Linked DNA regions of Homo sapiens: region 2 is linked to region 1. Evidence: promoter capture Hi-C in human tissues and cell types (Jung and others, 2019). All regions are on one chromosome and are shown on one strand. Each heading gives the region's core, a stretch centred on a gene start or on the middle of the fragment in contact. The rest is flanking DNA. Distances are from core to core; before and after follow the strand shown.

Region 1 (3,209 bases), core at 344-2,843:
CCTAGCAAAGGTTCTGAGTGAGAGGCAACCTCTGTCTTTGTTAAAACAGGAGATTAGCAAGTGTTACAGAGGGGTGCAAAGACAAATACTACAAAAATGATACTCCTTCCTTGACATAATCCATAGGAACAAAAGAAGTAAAAAGGGCATATCTTTTTTCACCTTGTGATCCACTGTTATCTAATTGTATTGTCTGTGTACCACCCAATACCATGCTTCCAATCTCTACTGGAAGATGTACACACTGGGACACACTGGTAAAGTGATCAAGCACCAGGACTGTAAGTCAAGCTGATCAGGTTCAGCTCTTGGCTCTGCCAACTCCTAGCCACCCAACCCTAAATACCTGAAACTGTATGCATCAGTTTCTTCGTCTTTAAAATGGAAGCAATAATAGATCTTCAGAGTAATACTTTCTTAAAGATAGTGCCCAAATTTGGACATTATGCCCAGGTGTAATCCGACCAGTGAAGAGCATCAGTTCAGCCTAAGATTGCAGCCTCATTCGGGTTTTGAACTGAACTCGTTCAGCCTTTGGGTGTTCACAAAGCTGTGCTTGTAGCCAACTAAAATAAAATCTAAGGTATTTTGATAGGCACCACTACTGAGCCACATCCTCCATTACTTACATTGCTGGGTGTTTCGGCCTGAGGGAGGACTTCACATTTATTCCTATTAACCAGATTTTGCCCCCTTCACTGGTGCTTTAGCATTTGCTCAGCTCCTTCTCCTACCCTGTATTTGAGGGAAAGGAAGCCAAATGGGCAGAACTTGGCCATAATGAGGATGTGTTTGACATGCTGGATTTGAGTCTGTGTTCCATTGAAGAAAAGAAATGGAAACTTTGTTGAGTATCCATTCTATACAGGGCACTTTCCTTGACTATTTCATTTAACACTCCAAGGACCCCCTGAGGTAGATGTTATCGCCATTTTGCAGAGAAGAAATCTGCATTTTTATTTGAAGTTCTTAAACATGGTAAACGACCCAATTTTCTGCTTTTTGCTTAACAGTATTTTGCAAACATTTTATCATGTTACTTCATGTTTTCCTATTTTTTTTTTGCTTTATAAATAAATACATACTCCCTCCTTATTCTAAAAAGAATTTGAAGCACTTCTGTCTTGATGTTTATCATTTTAATGGTTGTATAATGTCCCATTAAGTCACCCTAATTTATTCAACAAATTTCCTACTGTTGACAGTTTGGCTCTGTTTGCTTTTTGTGGTTTTTAAAATTATTTTCTGTAACAAATGATCCTGCTAAAAAAAAAATCTCCGCACGAATATTATTTTGTTCTGGAAATTTCCGCAAGGGTGGAATACTGCATTAAAGGGGATAATATTTTTGGTGTTTCTTTATAGAGCCTAGCAAATTGCCCACCCAAAGGAGTATGCTTTATTTGAGAGTAAAAAGCCAAAAACAAACAAACACATACAAAAAAACTGGTTTTCTACAAAAGAAATTAATTTTCCACTTATTCATAAAATATTCTAGTGCTGTGATGGGTGGCAGGCACCGTGCCAGGGGCTAGGGACAAGGATAAGCAAGGCCAGGTCCGGGCCTCCAAGCAGCGCGCTGTGGAGTCGGGTAGAGTAGACCAAGTGCAACAGGCACCTGGCTGCAGCCAGGAAGGACCGCACGCCCTTTCGCGCAGGAGAGTGGAAGGAGGGAGCTGTTTGCCAGCACCGAGGTCTTGCGGCACAGGCAACGCTTGACCTGAGTCTTGCAGAATGAGTAAGAGTTTGGGCACGCGATTTGTATTTATTTTACTGTGAATCTCTGGCCTTATATCAGAAAAAAAAAAATTGTGCCACCCTCGGCACAGAGAACGTTGGTGGCGTCGTAAGCGCCCTAAGCTTCTTTCCATCGCCAAGGAGTAGGGGTCAGGGAAGAGGACAGCGGGAACAGGATTTGAGAGCCGGGAACCCCTGGCTCGGCACGGGAGAGGGCAGGAGAGGACCTAAGCGCGGGGCTCGCCGTCTGCTGGGGACCCGAGCCGGCCTGTGGCCCTCGGGGAACCGAAGACGCGCCCTCAGCGACCCTGAAGAGTCAGCTAAGCTCTCTGCGGGCTAAGGAGACGGTGAAGGAACCGGGACTAACTGGGGTAGGGGTTAGAAGGCAGCCCGCGAGTGGGCTACGAGGGGAGCTGGGCTCGGCAGTTGGGGACCCCGAGGGGGCAAGCGGGCGGGGAGCAGGAGAGGGGCGGAGCTCCGGGGCCGGGGCCGGGGCCGCAGCGGCCGCCCAGAGGGTCTGCGGGGGCTGCTGTGGCCGGACCCGAAGGCGGGCGCCGGGAGCGCAGCGAGCCAGACGCGCCTCTCCAAGACCGTGACCTTGGCATAGGGAGCGGGGCTGCGCGCAGTCCTGAGATCAGACCAGAGCTCATCCTCGTGGAGACCCACGGCCGAGGGGCCGGAGCTGCCTCTGTGCGAGGGAGCCCTGGCCGCGGCGCAGGTAGGACCGGGGAACCCAAGGAGGGCGGGAGGAAAGCGCCCCTGGTGGGGGAGGGGCCGTGGCGGGGTCTGGGGGCCAAGGGCTCCGGGCCGAACGAGGGGCACACGCCGGAGCAGCTCCAGCCTGGGAGCATTGGGCGTGAACGTGGGGGAAAGTAGGGACCAGATTACAGGATCAAGGCTTTCCCCGGCTCAGAACTGGATTGTTCAGTGCCCCTAGAAGGGGCAGCGGGTCGCCCACGCGAATGAACGGGAGCGCGCACCAAAACGCCTGCTGTTGGTAGTTTCTTGTGCCTCTGCCTTGTTTCTGCCTGTGATATAGTCAGAAAGGACTCGCTTGCCACGTGTTAACAAGGGGACAGGTAGCTTTTACAGAGTGTATGAATATGGAGGGGAGGGCCACAGAGTCAGCTCTGGCCCCAGGGGCCGTCAGTGCCCCCACAGGATTCCTGGTCCAAGCTACCAGCTGTCTTGGGAACTTTGCTTCAGTGGCATCAAATTAGATTGTCAGTTCCCGGGGCCTGAGCACCAGCCTCCATGTGTATTTCCTGGGGAGAAAAAAAAAAGGCATACCAGACTGATGGAGTCTTATCATTATTTTAACATTATAGCTTTCAATAGATAACATGCATATGTTTCTTTTTTTAAGTCAAATAATACAAACATTTATCTTCTACAGGCAATGCGTGCACTAGCATGTGTGTCTATTGCTGTCTCCTTTCTACACCCATAGCCTTTCCCACTCTACGTGTTCT
Region 2 (3,209 bases), core at 352-2,851, 36 kb before region 1:
AAGCCACTTGTGACTTCCTTTGCCTATAAATCCCTTACTGATTCTCTCTTCCCACCTGATCCACATGATCTTTACTATCCACCCTACAACATTTAGCACATCTTCTGTGAGAGGCAGTCCTTGGGACTTCACAGGGTAGAATGGTTGCCATTCATTCATTTATTTATTCAATTAATAATCTTTAGTTATCATATGCCAGGCACAGTGCTAGGCCTTGGTTATACAGCTGTGAATAAAGCAGACAAGATTTTTGCCCTCATTGAGCTCACAGTCTAATGAAAACAACATACATTTAACAAATCATTAAACATGTATACTCATCACATACTGTCAAGTATGAAGAAAGAAAAGCATAGGGTGCTATGAGAGAGTGGGTGTTGGAACTTCCACTGTGCTGAGCTGATCTCCATGACAGCTTGCATCATACTGTATTCTAATTTTCCGATCCCTGTGGCTTTCATACCATGGGCCCCACACATTGTTTGTCTGACACCAGTTTCCCCAGAGCCATCTTCCCTGACAGGGCCAGACTCCAGGTTTGACTATGCCTGCCTCTCTCTTGCTGCTCTGCTGACTTAGCATAGCATGAGTCACTCTTGCTCTGAGAAACAAAGTTCTGAGAAAACTGAGCCAACAAACAGGTGACAGAAAAATAAAACTCCTAGCGTAAGGGATTTGGAGCACGTAGGGGTGGAAAAATCACTCTGGAGTTGTCAGATGAACCTGATCCAGATAAATACTCTGGGCTTGGATGAACAATCAGATAGCAAACTAAATAAAAGTGCATTTTGAGTACTGTTTGAAACAGTGATGTGTAAATACCTTCTATACCTTGAGAAAGGCCCTCATAGTAACAATGGAGATGTTGTCACAGAACCAAACTATAATATTTGGACTATGAAAAAAACAGAAGATAGAACATTGGAGCCAATGAATCCACATTTTCCCTGTCACTGCCATCTGGAAAATCAGCCATTATACCCTCAGGGTTTCAAGATCTTAGAAGAAACCCTGAAAAGGCAGGAACGGGCCTCCCACTGTCTTCCTTGCACTTGAGGCCTGGCATCTACAGCCAACTCTCTGCTCCACCAGCTGTATAATGTTAGGCAGGTGGTTTACCTCATTGTCTCTGCCTCAGTTTTCTCACGTGTAAAATGTGAATAAATAATGGGCCTCCTAGAGTCTTTTTGAGTGCTTAATACATGATGGGCATTATAATTTTATAATGTATAATTTTTTCAGCACTGAGCCTGTCAATATGTTCTGCAAATTGCCACCTCAGACTTGGAGGCATTCCAAGACAGCCAAGCTCAGCTAAGGCCTCCAGGAATGGAAAGGAAATAAGTTCCTCCATTTACCTAGCCCAAGTTCCTTGCTGGACCTATTGACCTTCCACCTTCCTAGGTAGAGAGCAATTTGGATATTCTTTGTTTAAATAAATAAATAAGTACTAAGTAATACTTATGAGTATTTTCTTAGACATGTTCAGCAAAAAGGAAAACTCATGCTGGCTGTAGAGGCTTCACTACCAACTGCTCAGCACACAAGTTTGCATGGCATTAGCTTTCCCTAGCAGGCCACCAACCTGGCACCAGGCCCCACACTCAAATCTGGAGCTCTCTTTCCTGACCAGAGCTCTATCCCATGCTCTGATGGTCTGAGTCAGCTCACATGTTTTGCCTCTCCCAATTGAGCTGCAGAAATTCTCTCTTCTATTCTGTTACCTGCTTCACCTCCCCAGCCACAATATGCCAAATCATGAACTGTCCGATGATGGGGTGGTGCCTGCCTGCAGGGCCACTACCTCTGGCTGTCTCCCTGAGTGTTTACTGCTAATTTAAGCTCTGCAGGGGAACTCTGTTCACAGGGACATGGCCCCTGGGGTGAAAGAGGTCTCACTCTGACTCGCACTCAGTCCCAAACCAGGCTGTGACAAGGAATAAACAGGGATTCTCAGGGAAGAAGAGAGACATTCTTCAGGCTTTTCTACCTGAAAGGGTAAGCTTCATCCTAGAAAAGGCTAGAAAATGTGATGGACTCAATCAACAGATCTTCTAAAATCCAAGGACATTTGCTTTCTACCACAAAGAAAAATGAGGGTGGAATTTTTCTTCTCAAATGTGCCTAAGCCACTATTTGGAAAGGAAGTTTGATATTTGCAACTACGGTTTTCTCAATAATCAGTTAGCAACAATTTTAAAAATCAAGAATTGAGACAGAAATAAACAGTCAGAAATGAGCTTGGTACATCACAGTTGAAGTCAACACTGTGACAGTAAAATAGTTAATCCTGGGTTCACAGCTGTGGGATAATTCAGAAAAAAAAAATGTTTTTTCTATTTTTCTATTTGCTGAGTGCTAAAGACTAGGTTCTCTCTCTAATCCCAGGCCACTTTATCCTAATAAATAAGGAAGTTGTGCTTATTAACAGGAGCTTAATAAGATTGCAGCCCCTTTAAATATCCTGAAGACACTGGCGGCTCTCCTCTCCAGCAGCAAACTGTGGTGGGCATCTTAAGGTCATTTCCTGTCCTGTCCTTGACCACTGGCTGCAGCCTGTGGACATGGCTGACCAGGGCACAGGGCCACAAGACTCATCTTTCTTCCAGCACGTGGATATGAGGGCAGCATCATTTCGCAGAAAAGCAAATACAATTTTGTTTTATTTTGTCTAATATGGTTCTGGCACAACACAAGCTGTCCCTATTCTAAGGCTGGAGAATTTGATTTCCTCTCTGGCCTGTGGAAATGGGCTCAGCATATAGCCCTATTTAATCACAGAATGTTAACACTAATCTGACTAAGATGGCTGACTTGAGGTGCTCCCCAGGCTGCAGCAAACAGTGCTAATCCTTCTAGCTGAACCTGGGCCCAACTTCAGAGAACAGAGCGGTTGGCTGTTTAATCACTCATGAAGGCATGACTGATTGAAACCATCATATACTTCCCCAGCTCAAAATGCATATGATTTTTTTCACTGGGAGGAAAAAACACATTACTATTTTGACAGTTGGCACCAGAATCCCACTGAGGGGAGAGAACAGTGAGTTCTAGCAACAGTAATGTACATTCATTCTGATACTCCTTTCAGTGCCATTTTCAACCCTCCACTCCATTATCTCTAAATGCTCAGTAAAAGTCTAGTATCCTAGTATCCTGAAGCCTTGGGGAATGAAGGCAAAGATGGTGTGAGAGAGGAGAGCCCCTGC

The links. The method cuts DNA at HindIII sites, captures the fragments that hold promoters and counts their contacts. A contact is called where the count stands out against the background at its distance.
Region 2: a contact is called between a fragment that was not itself captured here and the fragment with the promoter of CASR in region 1, in 1 of the 25 tissues and cell types used here (psoas muscle).

Annotation. Positions count from the first base shown.
Region 1 is chr3:122,182,075-122,185,283 of GRCh38, forward strand. CASR (calcium sensing receptor) reads left to right here and starts at 1,594. Exons shown (of 7, transcript NM_000388.4): 1 at 1,594-1,738. The HindIII fragment of the contact is 3,508 bases long and covers 1-2,798 here.
Region 2 is chr3:122,146,179-122,149,387 of GRCh38, forward strand. No RefSeq gene overlaps it. Among named protein-coding and RNA genes, the nearest start is that of CASR, 36 kb to the right of the region's middle. The HindIII fragment of the contact is 3,748 bases long and covers 1-3,209 here.